Linked DNA regions of Homo sapiens: region 2 is linked to region 1. Evidence: promoter capture Hi-C in human tissues and cell types (Jung and others, 2019). All regions are on one chromosome and are shown on one strand. Each heading gives the region's core, a stretch centred on a gene start or on the middle of the fragment in contact. The rest is flanking DNA. Distances are from core to core; before and after follow the strand shown. Region 1 holds the start of PRRG4 (proline rich and Gla domain 4). Region 2 overlaps CCDC73 (coiled-coil domain containing 73).

The links. The method cuts DNA at HindIII sites, captures the fragments that hold promoters and counts their contacts. A contact is called where the count stands out against the background at its distance.
Region 2: a contact is called between a fragment that was not itself captured here and the fragment with the promoter of PRRG4 in region 1, in 1 of the 25 tissues and cell types used here (adrenal gland).

The regions. Positions count from the first base shown.
Region 1 is chr11:32,826,082-32,833,455 of GRCh38, forward strand. It overlaps PRRG4 (proline rich and Gla domain 4), which reads left to right and starts at 3,846. Exons shown (of 6, transcript NM_024081.6): 1 at 3,846-4,092; 2 at 4,427-4,551. The coding sequence starts at 4,449. It also overlaps a transcript of CCDC73 not described here. RefSeq lists a silencer at 3,623-4,002 and enhancers at 4,423-4,472, 4,483-4,542. The HindIII fragment of the contact is 15,759 bases long and covers 1-7,374 here.
Region 2 is chr11:32,780,942-32,788,315 of GRCh38, forward strand. The region is part of intron 1 of CCDC73 (coiled-coil domain containing 73); the gene reads right to left. Among named protein-coding and RNA genes, the nearest start is that of CCDC73, 10 kb to the right of the region's middle. The HindIII fragment of the contact is 5,975 bases long and covers 1-5,847 here.

The sequences.
Region 1 (7,374 bases), core at 2,596-5,095:
GAATTAAAGTTCTGTTCAAAAGTGTCCTTAAAGGGCTTTAAGCAAATGTTTAAAATAAAATTCTTAACCCCTTTACTGATTTGTTGAATCTGAAAATACCTGCATGTAGATATATAATCAACCTGGAACAGTAGGAGTCTTTCATTTCTCACTTGCTGACTATACTGAGATAAACTAAAACAGCAAACAATTGATGTTGAAATGTCAAGGCTAAAATGTCACGGCAACAGCAAGTTTAATAAAGTTGCATCTCTTCAAGAGGCTAATGATAGTCATCGATGTGCCTTTAAGGATGTGGAGGTGACTTTACTTACAGAGCTTCATGGCTGCAATCTTAACATCTCCTGTCACAGTCCTTGAGTCCATCCTCATGCCCACACAGTAAAGTGAGTTTTCATTTCATTCTTGAATTCACACAGGTAAGTGGGCGGGTATGTGCTCAAATTCAGAGATGCATTATCACATTAATCCAAGTCCATTAATCTCATTGCTCCAATTTTTTTTCTTATTCCCTCTGAACTAAATAATTCTTTACCTACTGCCCTTTATTGCTTGATAATAACTCAAAAAAAAAAAAACAAAAAAAAAAACCCAGAGTCAAGAACCAAGCTACTACTTGGCCGATGACTATTCATTTACTTCATGCTTCAATATCCCTCTTTGTAAAATGAGAATTATAATATCTAGCCCAACTCCACAGATAGCCAGTATAAGAAAAATACCATCTGTGAGAACACTTAAAATGCTTTGGAAGAAAGGCATAAGAATATTATAACATTATTATTATTATAATTATTGAGATGGAGTTTCACTCTTGTTGCCCAGGCTGGAGGGCAATGGCGCGATCTCGGCTCACTGCAACCTCTGCCTCCTGGGTTCAAGCGATTCTCCCGCCTCAGCCTCCCGAGTAGCTGGACTTACAGGTGCCTGCCACCATGCCTGGCTAATTTTTTTTTGTATTTTTAGTAGAGACGGGGTTTCACTGTGTTGGCCAGGCTGGTCTCAAACTGCTGACCTCATGATCTGCCCGCCTAGGCCTCCCAAAGTGCTGAGGTTACAGGTGTGAGCCACCGTGCCCGACCAAGAATATTATAACTTTAAATAGCAGATGGCACAAAATAAAATTAATACAGCAAGGAAATAATAGAAGAAATCAGCTCTCTTGGGCATTGTTGTTACTGGCTTTTCTCATTTCTCTCTTTGCCATCTAACCTCAAAATATCTTGCAGCTCCGTAGTGACTGAAGTTTGTGTGCATGCTGCCAAATGCTGTAACATTCTCTAGGACTCAATGTTACAGGGAAACACACAGGGATGTAATTCACTACTGAGAAACAGACTTCATTTCTCTGTCTGCCTCCCTCTCTGTCTATAAACTCTGATATTTGATGTCAGCACAAGGCCTCATTTGTTTTGGTCCAAATATCCAGATATGTGGGCAGACTCATTTTACCAAGGAATGTCATCAAAGTTCACAACTGCTGATTCCATAGCATGAGGCATTTGACCATTGGCCTCTCCCCAAAGTAGTGGGAAATGAAGCACTTTTCCTACCTGAAGATAAATTGCTTCCACTCCATGAAAATGTATTCAGCACGAACAATGTAGAAAGCACTCCCCTGGGTACTGTCGAGAATGCAAAAATGAATAAGTCAGTTCTTGCACTTGATAAGAACTTTACAGGCCCACATTCTCAGATATAGGTCTCAGTCAGATTAAGTTCTCCTCCACAACAGAAGCTGTGGTGTCCATCTCCCCACCAGGAGGTCTCAGTGCTGTAGGTTGACTCAATGAATAAACAGGAAAATGGGTGTTCTAGTGAAAATGTTTCCTATTCTTGTGTTCAACCACAATAAACCATGTCTGGCCTCTTCATAGTCTGATCCCAATTGCTTGAATAAGAGGGAAAGAAGAATCCATCATAGAAATAGTTTAGACCACGAGGTAGACAAATGGAAAGTGAAGAGGAAGGGATTGGAAGAAGGGAAAGGAAAAGCACTGCCTAGAAGGAATCAGTGAAAACAAAATTTCTGCAGAAAACTTAGGAATAATTCAGTTGATTATCAATAATAATAATAAAATAGACAATATCCTTTGGGAGGAGAAAAACAGAATTTGGTAAAAATTGAATTAGTCAAAAATTTGAGGCCGGGCACAGTGGCTCATGCCTGTAATCCCAGCACTTTGGGAGGCCGAGGTAGGTGGATCACCTGAGGTCAGGAGTTTGAGAACAACCTGGCCAACATGGTGAAAACCCCTCTCTCCTAAATGTACAAAAAATTAGCCGGGCGTGGTGGTGGATGCCTGTAATCCCAGCTACTCGGAAGGCTGAGGCAGGAGAATCGCTTGAACCCAGGAGGCGAAGGTTACAGTAAGCCAAGATTGTGCCACTGTACTCCAGCCTGGGTGACAGAGCAAGACTCTGTCTCAAGAAAAAAAAAAAAAAAATGAAGGGGGAAAAAATGTTTCCCTTGGTCCCCAGCAAGTGCCAGACCACTTCGACCAAAGCATAAATAGTGTTTCAAAGAACTGTTAAGCACGTTCTTTGGATAAAGAAGGATGTGACCATCACCTGGCATAGGTACTCTGTCCACCTGCTGCCTTCATTACTTGATGCAGCAGTTTTTGAAGTCTTTAATCAAGACCTTTTTACGCTCTTTTACATTATCAAGGACCCCAAAGAGCTTTCACTTATGTGAATTTTATCTAATGATATTTATTATCTAACATTAAAACTGAGAAATTTTCAAAATATTATTTGAAATCAAGACAACAAAGCTTACTTTTTGTTATGTTTATGCATAGACTCAAGGAAAAGATCAAGATTTCAAGATAATTACTTCAGAAAAATGAGGTTATAGCTATCCTAGTAGATATGAACAAATAGAACTAATCAAAGTACAAAAGCAGTAGCCAAGAGAGTTGGTGGACACCTGTAGTCCCAGCTACTCTGGAGGATGAGACAGGAGGATCTCTTGAGCCCAGGAGTTCCTGGGCAACAAAGTGAGACCCCCTACTCTGAAAAAGAAAAAAGGAAAGAAAAAAAATTAAGTTCACAAGTACTGAGAACAAATTTTATTAATCTCTATAAATCTACATAAATCTCTATAAAATGTACATACTGATAATGTAAACATACTACTATGGAAAATACCAGAAAATACAAGCACGCTCACTCAGGTATTCTATTAGGAGACAGAATGATGACGTTATTACACTTCAAATAGCCCCTGGAAATTTCCACTGTACACTCTTGAGAGAATGAAAGTGAAAATGGCAAATCATTTATTGTTACTATAATGGAAATAGTTTTGCCCTCAGAGACCCCTGGAAAAGATCTTGGAGACATCCCAGACCTGGCGGACCACCATTGGAGAACCAATGTAATCAATTACTTGTAAGGTCATTTCCATTTCTTATCACGAATAAAGGGTATTTTGTCTGATGAATATCTTGTCCTCGTCCCCGGACCACCCTTTTGAGAACAGTTGACCTAAGGTAACCACAGGACTCCTGGCCCAGTGGGACCCAAAGCGAAAAGCCCTGGACGCGCCGAGGGCGCTCTGCTTAAGACTGAGAACCGAAATGCTTCCTGAATTAGGATCATTGAGAACGCCGAGTGCAGACACAAATCGAAAAGCAGCCACCCGCGCCGCCAAGGCGGGGCCAGAACTGGCGGCAGGCGGCTGGCCCGCCCGGGGATGGGGCAGAAGCTGGGGCGGCTGAGAGCGCAGCGCGGGCTCCCGGGAGACGCCGGCCCACTGCCCGCCCGCTCGCCGCAGGTAGGCCCGGCCCCCGGGAGGTGGGGCGCGGCCAGGTGTCCCCAGGTAGCCGCCTCCTCCCGTCCTCCGTCGGCCGCCTCCCCGGACCGAGGCAGGACCTCACCCCGCGCGTGTTCCCCGGGCGCCCCTCTGCGAACCCCAGGCCCTTCCCAGGTTTGCGCGCGGGGGCCATCCAGACCCTGCGGAGAGCGAGGCCCGGAGCGTCGCCGAGGTTTGAGGGCGCCGGAGACCGAGGGCCTGGCGGCCGAAGGAACCGCCCCAAGAAGAGCCTCTGGCCCGGGGGCTGCTGGAACATGTGCGGGGGGACACAGGTACGAGGCCTGGCGGCAGGACCTCGGCGGGGAGGGGGTTACCTGGAAGGGGCCACCTCGGCGGACTGGGTTGGATTCGAACACATAGCGAGGGTTGCCCGCGGCGACAGGTGCCCGATCAGCCCTCGGCAGGGTCACTGGGCACGGCGTTTGTCCCAGGCGCTCTCAGGGGCTGCTTCCTGGGCGCGCGTCGGGTTCCGGCGACCGAAACCGCGCGCCGGGCGCTCTTGCGCCTAGGCTTTGAGTACAACAGGTTGGTGATTCAGTTCGACAGAAACTCAAAGTGCTGAGCTAGGGGCCTTTTTTTTTTAATATTTTTTTTTGTTTGTTTTAGTTTGTTTGACAGTTGCCAGACTATGTTTACGCTTCTGGTTCTACTCAGCCAACTGCCCACAGTTACCCTGGGGTTTCCTCATTGCGCAAGAGGTCCAAAGGCTTCTAAGCATGCGGGAGAAGAAGGTAAGCACTAAAACGTCCCTGGAACCCAGAGCCGCATAGCACAGATCTCAGTGAGAAAGTGCAGTATTTGAAATTACATACCCCCAGCAATCATAGAAACACTAAAATATCCTTTAGTTTAATTTGTGGCATATTTGGCAAGGTTGTGTTTTTTTATGTTCTTTAACTGCAATTTATAGAATTTGATGTCTGTGAGTCTCCTTTAATAAGTATATACGTAAGACCTAGTTTGTGGTTAATTGAATGGAAAACCTATTTCAGCTTCTGAAAATCAGTGAGTGACATTTCTCTAGATGAAGCTGTGTGGCGATTATAATAAGCATAATTACTTGTTCTTCCTGGAGAGGCGAACGGGGAGTCCAGGATCTAGTCTGGACTTGCGAGACCCTGGGCGAGATAACTTAATCCCGTTTGGCTTGAATGTCTTCATCTGTAAAAGTGATGCGGGTGGGGCGTAAAATGATCTCTGAGGTCCTTTTTGACTTCAGATGGTCTAGTTGTCTAGATAAAAGCAGCTAGTTGAGAAAAGATTAGGTTTGGGGCTTGCTAACCTGGAAGTCCACAGTTTTTAGGTTTCAGATCATTAACAGTTTGTTTCCTGCCTATATCTTAAAAGCCTAACCTAGTAAAACCAGAAGAAAAAAAAAGCCTCTGTCTCTCAGCATCCTTCTCCCTGACTATTCATGGTGCTTCCCCACTCAGTGTCAGTACTCTGGATCCACGTCCCCACACATTCCTGTCTCTTATCCCTTCTCATCAGATCCGATTCTCAGCTCATTTTCATTTGGGAAGGATCTGTTACACTAGTACTCCTAACTGACTTTATTAATGATTAATACAGCTGTGTTTGTGTGTGTTGAGCTAGAACAATCCATTAACCCAAAGGCGTGAAACTCTGATGACAGAATTCTAGCAACTGGATAGGCTAGCTAGAGAGAGAGGGAGAGATTTTGGAAGAGGATCCTTTTTAGTCCCTCTCAAGCTGCACCATATATGTAAGTCCACTTAGAAGGTTGCACTTATAAGGTTCCATAATCAGATGCTCTTCCCTAAAATGATTGTGAGTGCAATCATTCATTCACATGACACGGGTATAAGAGACACTCTCGCCGGCACGGTGGCTCACACCTGTAATCCTAGCACTTTGGGAGGCCGAGGCAGGTGGATCACCTGCGGTCAGGAGTTCGAGACCAGCCTGGCCAACATGGTGAAACCCCGTCTCTACTAAATATACAAAAATTAGCCTGGCTTGGTGGCACGTGCCTATAATCCCAGCTACCCGGGAGGCAGAGGCTGCAGTGAGCTGAGATCGTGCCACTGCACTCCAGCCTGGGCGACAGAGTGAGACTCCATCTCAAAAAATAAAAATAAAAGCAAATAAATAAATAAATAAATAAAAGACAGTCTCAAGGACACCACAAGCTATGGAAGGAATTTAGAGATCATACTTGAGTGTGGAGGGCTGGAGATGTCTGTGGAAATGTGAATGAGGGATCCGACACATTTGAAAAGACAACTTGTTCAGTCAGTCACCACTTGATGAACACATGCTAAGTGCCAGGCCCCGTGCTGTGTGGTGGAGACATAGAAATGAAAGACTGCAATCTCTGCCCTGGAGGACATCTTCATCTGTGTGGGAGGCAGGGTGTTTGTTAAACAGACGATCTCCATCAACTGTATAACAGAAGCCAGAACACAGAACTGAGAGCAGAGGAAAGAGTGAGTAGCAGTAACTCTGCCTCAAGAGAGTTGTATGGCAGAGAAGCCAATGCCTTCCATCTGCAAATGGGCTATAATAAATGGAGATATGAAAAGTAACTGGAAATAAAGGACCTTTGGTGAAATTCTTTTTTTTTTTTTTTTTTTCAGACAGAGTCTCGCTCTGTCTCCCAGGCTGGAGTGCAGTGGCGTGATCACGGCTCACTGCAACCTCCACCTCCTGGGTTCAAGCAATTCTCCTGCTTCAGCCTCCCGAGTAGCTGGGATTACAGGTGCGCACCACTGTCCCAGCTAATTTATTTTGTATTTTTAGTAGAGACGGGGTTTCACCATGTTAGCCAGGCTGGTCTTGAACTCCTGACCTCAGGTGATCCTCCCACCTCGGCCTCCCGAAGGGCTGGGATTACAGGCGTGAGCTACCGCGCCTGGCCCTAAAATCTGATAAAGCATGACGGTAGAGTTGAAATGACTGAAAAGGAGCTATTTAGAAAACATGAGGAGATAGAAGTGAGGAGAAGAACGGAATATCTGGGTTGGTGAATTTATAGCAGTGAAATGCATGGACAGCCTCTTAGGATAGTCTAAGACAGGAAAAATAGAGAAGGGTAGAGAATCTAAGGAAGCAGAGCCAAGGCCATTGCATCCTCCAGCCATGGTCAAGGGGAAAATAGGAGCTCTTGCTAAAAGCCAAGGGTGTTTCAAGGGCAGGGAAGTTTGCTTCCTTTCAATTAAAAGCAAGTTCAGGGTTACTTAGAATCCAGTAACAAAAGACAATATTTCTCCTGAGATCCTAAGGGATGCAGGGAAAAATTTGATCTGGCACCAAAAGTCAGTCAGTGACAGAATCAGAACTTGCACACTCAGGGAAGTGGCAAGCAGCAGCCCCTGGAAGGCGGATTTAATACAGTGTTAATCATAATAGCATGATTAATCATAAATATCATATTTATGATATTGGCATAAATATTATTTCAGGAAAAATAAAAATGTTTGTGGCTCTCCCTTTTTCTGTTTCCTCTATCAAAGTAGCTTTTGAGTTCCATGGGGTTGTATTTTTAATAACTCAACCTACTGGAACAGAAGACTGTCATGAGAAATTTGGCA
Region 2 (7,374 bases), core at 1,610-4,109, 46 kb before region 1:
TGGGCAACATGGCAAGACCCCATCTCTACAAAAAGTTTTAAAAGTTACCCAGGTGTGGTGGTGCATGCCTGCAGTCCCAGCTACTTGGGAGGCTGAGGTAGGAGGATTGCTTGAGCCCAGAAGGCGGACGTTGCAGTGAGCCAAGATCATGCCACTGCATTCCAGCCTGGGCAACACAGTGAGACCCTGTCTCAAAAGAAAAAGTGTTTGTGGAGTTTATAACAAAAATATTTATGTTAACACTTTGTTAGAAACATCAATAATAATAAAAACAGGACTCAGAGTCTTCTAATTAAAGATAGTGGATTGAACAGTGGTATTTAGTTCCACTCCACTAAAATGACAGTGGTGATTTAAGGCATAAGCCTTAGAACAAACAGAATGGTATCTAAGACAAAAACAATAAAACTCTGTTTTTTGGCAGACAGATAAAAAAGTAGAAATCTTTATTGCACCTGAGAAAGCTAGGAAAACTGAGAAGCAATTTGATTTACATCACTCTCTCCTCTTTCTCCCCTCCCCTGCCAACAGAGTCTGCTGATACCAGGTACCTCTAAAGGTGAAGGTAAAGGTGAAGCCAAAAACAGGATGATTACTTGAAAGTGTGTTTAAGAAGACCCACAGATTCCCTCTCTCTTTCTGGTTAGGCAGAACCCTCTCTGACCTGGGCAGAAGATTGGAAGTTGTTCTGATGATGACAAAACTGAGCCTCTGGAATGGGTTTATTGGGATACCAGGTGCAGTTGAGAAAGGGTCAGGGGTGGCTACTATATGGAAAAATGTGTATATTAAATGTTGAGATACCCACCAGTCTTTCTTCTCCACAGCTCCAATAGCTGCTAACAGCCAGATAGCTCTTGAGGCAGCAGATTGGAAGGAAGTGTGTGTTTTCTAAGGCAGAAGTCCCCATCCCCCAGGCCACAAACTGATACTGGTCCGTGGCCTGTTAGGAACACCCCAGGCCACGCAGCAGGAGGTGAGCGATGGCACGAGAGCAAGTGAAGCTTCATCTGTATTTACAGCCACTCCCCATTGTTCGCATTTCCACCTGAGCTGCCTCCTGTCAGATCAGGGGCAGCATTAGATTCTCATAGGAGTACAAACCCTGTTGTGAACTGTGCATGAGAGGGATCTAGGTTGCATGCTCCTTATGAGAATCTAATGCATGATGATCTGTCACTGTCTCCCATCACCCCCAGATGGGACAGCATAGTTGCAGGAAAACAAGTTCAGGGCTCCCACTGACTCTACATTATGGTGAGTTGTATAATTATTTCATTACATATCACAATGTAAAAATAATAGAAATAAAGTGCACAATAAGTTGTAATGTGCCTGAATCATCCTGAAACCATCTTCCCCCAGCCCCAGTCTGTGGAAAAATTGTCTTCCACAAAACCAGTCCCTGGTGCCAAAAAGTTGGGGACCACTGTTCTAGGGAATTTGACCAGGCTAAGAGAAAAGACACAAATAATATGATAACAGGAGTTTCCTCACAAAATGTTCTAGTCAGGTAACCCTAAGATGAAGACCATAGTCAATAGGCTATATCCATGCATACATAACCTCCAATTCACTTTCTGGTGCCCCATTCTTAAATACAGAGCAAAGAGTGAAAAACCAATAGACTTTTAAGGGAAAGTGTCTAATTTAAAAGACAAAGATTAAAACAAACTGAAATTTTAAAAGCCAATTCAGAGGAAGCAAACATTAAGCAAAGGAAACTCTTTCAAAAGAAATATTACTAACACTCTTTTAAAAATTATTTTCTTATCCATAGTGTTCAGTACAGCATCAACTTTCTTATGAAGAGATGAGTGTATATTACATTGATGAAAAAAAAGATGCTTCACAGAAACAGTTCTTATAAAAATTAAGATAGTGGAAATGAAAAATCCAATAAAAGGATTAGAAGACAAAGTTAAAGAAGTCTTGCAAAAAGAAGCAAAAAACCAAAGAAATAGAAAATTGAAGAAACAAAGATTAGAAAATTAGAGGATTAATCCAGAAGTCCCAATAACTGTACCCTAAAAGTCCCAGAAAGAGTGAACAAAGAAATTGGAGAAGAAATCATCAAAAAGTTTCTAAATCAATTTTCCCAGAATTAAAAAATATAACTTCACATATTAAAAGAACCCATCAAGTGCCAGCACCAAGACACATCATTGGTGAAATAACAGAACACTAGAGGAAATGAAAAGATCCTATATGCTTCCAGAAAGGAAAAAAAAAATCATAAAAAAGATCAAGAATTACACTGGAATTTTCAATATCCATAATGGAAGCTAGAATAAAGAAACTAAGCCCTCAGTTTAAAGGGAAAATGATTACCAGATTGGAATTTTAACAGCCATGTCAACAGTGAAGATAGAAGATATTTTCAGATATGCAGTATCCAAAACAATTTACCTTCTATGCACCCTTTCTCAGGAAGCTCCTTAAGGATTTCTTTAAGGAAGAGAAAGGCATGGGATCCAGGAAACAGCGGATCCTTGTCTTAATCTGTTCAGATGACTATAACAAAATATCAGACCAGGTGGCTTATAAATAACAGAAATTTATTTCTCGCAGTTCTGGAAGCTGGGGAGTCCTAGATCAAAGTGCTAGCAGATTCAGTGTCTGGTGAGGTCCTGCTTCCTGTGTCCTCACATGGTGGAAGGGGTGAGGAAACTCTCTGAGGCATTTTTATTTTATTTTTATTTTTTTTTCCTGGGGTCTTTTCATAAGGGTGCTAATCCCATTCAAGAGGACTCTGCCTTCATGACCTAATCACCTCCCAAAGGCCCCACCAAATACTACCACACTGGGGATTAGGTTTCAACGTATGAATTTGGGGGAGACACAAATATTTATTCTATAGCAATCTTGCATAGGCAAGAAAGAGAGGAAAGGAACCCTAGCACGGTGGAGGACAGCAAGAGGACACCTGTACGAAGACAGAGAGCAACCAGTCCAGATTAAAGTGGTTTAATAGGCTCTGGCAGCAACTTCCTCAACACAATGGTATTAATAGATTATCAACTGTTTTTAAGTTACTCATAAAAGTTTTAGGTAACTGAGAGAAGTCTGGGGTTGAATTAGTAATTAATACATTAAAAAGAAAGCAGGCCAGCCACAGTGGCCCACGCCTATAATCTCAGCACTTTGGGAGGCCAAGGTGGGCAGATCACCTAAGGTCGGGAGTTCAAGACCAGCCTGACCAACATGGAGAAACCCCGTCTCTACTAAAAGATACAAAATTAGCCGGGCGTCGTGGTGCATGCCTGTAATCCCAGCTACTCAAGAGGCTGAGGCAGGAGAATCGCTTGAACCTGGGAGGCAGAGTTTTGGTGAGCCAAGATCGCGCCACTGCACTCCAGCCTAAGCAACAAGAGTGAAAGTCCGTCTCAAAAAAAAAAAAGAAAGCAATGGGGAAAAATAAGACAATCCAAGGTGGTAAGGAAAAATAATCACAGAATATTACAATAGTTCAGCTGTGAACCACATTTATGATTATGTTATTACTCTGCTGATATAATAAAAAGTATGCTACAACCGTTTATGGAGGATGTGAAGAAGGAGAAGTTAGAGCAAAAGACAAAAGAAAGTTAAATCCTTAGTTTCCATCATGGGAAGGCATTAGATAATGGGTAAAACTGGAAAATCAAGAAGTATCATTTACAAACATACTATTTAAAGATATGGAAGTAAATGTCTAAAGTATCAGCTAAAATAGCTTGAAGTAATTGCTCTGAAAAGGAAGAAATGGCAGGAGAGATCTTTTTCTGAACAAACTTTATTTTAAGAAAAGTATAAATGATTTTGTCCTCTTCATTCTCCTTTTCTATAAGCAGTGTAAATAACATATAATGGAGGAGTAAATTTTATTGTATATGTTTTAAGTTGGTACAGAACCCTTAGACTAAGATATATGAAATCAGTTTAGTTTCTTATAATGATAGAACAGAACAGGCTGGGCACGGTGGCTCATGCCTGTAATCCCAGCACTTTGGGATGCCAAGGCAGGCGGATCATTTGAGGTCAGGAGTTCGAGACCAGCCTGGCCAACACGGTGAAACCCCATCTCTACTAAAAATTAGACAGGCGTGGTGGTGGGCGCCTGTAATCCCAGCTACTTGGGAGGCTGAGGCAGGAGAATCACTTGAACCCGGGAGGTAGAGGTTGCAGTGAGCTGAGACAGCGCTACTATACTCCAGCCTGGGCAAAAAAGCAAGACTCCATCTCAGGAAAAAAAAAGAACAGAACAGTGTAGATTAAACTAGAATAGACCAGCAATCTCCTCACATATGGTAAGTTTTATAAAACTCTTGTTTTAATTTTATGTAAATGTAAATACATATAAGTATACCAGATTACAATGTGAAATGTATTTCTTACAGTGGCTCACTGTCAAAAAAAGTTTTACGATGCTGTTACAGACAGCTTGACAAGGTGAGAAATGCACCAGTTTTTCTTTTATTTTTTGTTTTTGTTTTTTTGACACAGGATCTCACTCTGTCACCCAGGCTGGAATGCAGTGGCGTGATCACAGCTCACTGAAGCCTTGACCTCCAGGGCTCAAGTGACCCTGCCACCTCAGCCTCCCAAGTAGCTGGGACTGTAGGCATGTGTCACCATACCCAGTGAATTTTTTATTTTTTTTAGAGACAGACAGGCTATCACTATGTTACCCAGGCTGGTCTTGAACTCCTAGGCTCAAGCAATCCTCCTGCCTCGGCCTCCAAAGTGCTAGGATTACAGGCATGAGCCACCATGCCTGGCAGAAGTGCACCAGTTTTGAAGTTTTGTGGTAAAGTACAGATTTTTGTTATGTGCTTTTGAAAAAGAAATATGCATTTTTGTAGCTTCCTATAACAGAATCCACAACAGATATGGATTAAAATTCTCTCCTCTTACTAGCTGTGTGACTTCTCACACAGAGGAGGTTTCAGTTTCCTCATCTATTAATACCAGGGATAATAATACTTATTTCACAGGATGTGATGATTAAATTAAGGTAACATATGTAAAGACCTGGTTTTACATAAGGGTTCAGAAACCAGTGAAGAAGAAATGTAAATGCTTATATGTATAAAACATGCTGTTTTTGTAATTTTAAAAAGACATGTAATATTTAATTTGAAGCTTCATCTATATTTTACTTTTAACAGATCAAAATATTCTTACACTTCAGTACTGCTTTTATTACAGAAATATCTAAAAATGCATACGCCTTCCCCTATCCTGAAACACAATTTGAATAAACTCCAACAGTGATTCCATATAGAAGGGTTGCCATTAAGAAATGCTTACTGAATCTTTATTTTTAACATTTGGCATAAAATAGTTACTAATGAACTTTTGTAAGTAGTTCATTTATTTATAGTAATTTATAACAATAAATCTGTTATTTATAATACTCAAGTATTTATTATATAATTATAATATATAATAAATATATTATTTATATAATTATAATATATAATAAATATATTATTTATATAATTATAATATATAATAAATATATTATTTATATAATTATAATATATAATAAATATATTATTTATATTTATAACATACTTGTTATTAATAAATATTTCATTATTAAAATATATTTTAAAATAAGGCCAATATAATATTATAAAATGCTTAAAGCATCATTTCAGCATTCATCATATTATTTATTTTATATAAGTATTACAAGCTTTTTTAAAAGCTTTTTTTCAAAAGTACATAATAAAAATCTATATTTTTCACAGTTTAAGAGATATAAAGGCTTTTATGTCTTTGGAAGTATTTATTAAAAATTACATCTTAAATACTCTACAGTGGAAAGTAAGTTAGCCTATAATCCTGATAGGGGTCAGAGTAATAACACAGAATGGACAAATTACACTGTCATTCTACTTAAATTATTTAAGTTATTTAATTTGACCTGTAGATAGTCTCTTGTCTTCTCATCATGCCTGACTTTTAAGTGGGAGGTCTTCATTCATGATGATCCTTTAATGGAAGCAAAGCTTTCTCCATTTAACCCATGCTGTTATCAATCATGTACAGGGATAAATGAGCCTGTAAGATTTTGCCAGTATCACAAATGACACTTTGACCTGAGGCCAACATCTTTATTTGCTTCTCCAGTGATTCACTTCAGCAGATATTAACCAATTTTATAATCCATGAAAGGCAAAATTAAAGGACACCATCCATAAAACAGAATAATTCCTATCAGCAACAAAGTGATGTGTATTATCTTATAAATTATATGGCCATACAGTGTGGTAATGTAATGAAGTAAAGATGGTAATAACCAAATGCCTAGGGCAAACGCTAATATGCATTTAATCACACAGCATGAAGCCATTTGTCACTACAGTTGAATGCATGTGTACATAAAATACATGAGCCACGTCCTTATTGTTATACTATAACAGCATCAGTTTCACACTATCATTTCACATAATAACAACCAGTAGGCTTTGACATTAGCTAAAACATTCAAAGAATATAAACACAATTGTCTTTTTTATATTTACAACTATAAAAAATTTTCGATTTTTCAGTAACAAAAACATTTTTCCCAAAAAAATTATTTGGTAAAGAACCATAAGTTTCAAGTTGCTTTTTTCTTAAATATCACATAAGTTGGTTTCATCATATTGTCTTTTATTCTTGTGAATACTCTCATAACTTGAAAAGAATGGCAAATTAGTCCTATAAGCCTGTCTCCTTCATACATAATTATTAATTTAGTATGTAAATGTAAAATATGGATGGCATTTGTCACAAAAAGTGAATCTTTGTGTGAAAAATTATACCCATTAATTATACACAAGCTGGTGCATGTGTAGAGTAAAAAAGATACAGAACAATCAAAATATGATCTAAAAACATATAAACATGAATTATATGATCTGGGATTGCTACAAGATTCATTGAGAACATCCTTAACTCCATCAGGACCTTTTATAATCTAATAAAATTATAACTATTACATTTCCTAAGGTATGCCCCCCAAAAGTAAAGAACTGAAAGATCTTTTATGTCCCATATAGCACAAGTGCCAAGCTGGAACTGATTACACTTACACTCATCAGATTCTATCTTGTAGTAGCAAAAGTTGCCTTATCCGTTATACTGCAAATTCCTTGACCAATGGCGAAGTCTTCCACACTTTTGTATTCTCATACTGCCAGATATAATAATTTACAAAAGGCAGGCACTAAATTAATTTTTGTTGCATTGATTATACTGAATTGAATAGATCACTCATATCCTTTGGAAAAGGCAAGAGAAGGATACTTGAAAACCATGAATCAAAGAAGGCAGCATGTACAATCAGAGTGTTTCCTATAACTGTGATAGATAAACTTTTAGAAGGATATCACAAAGCTG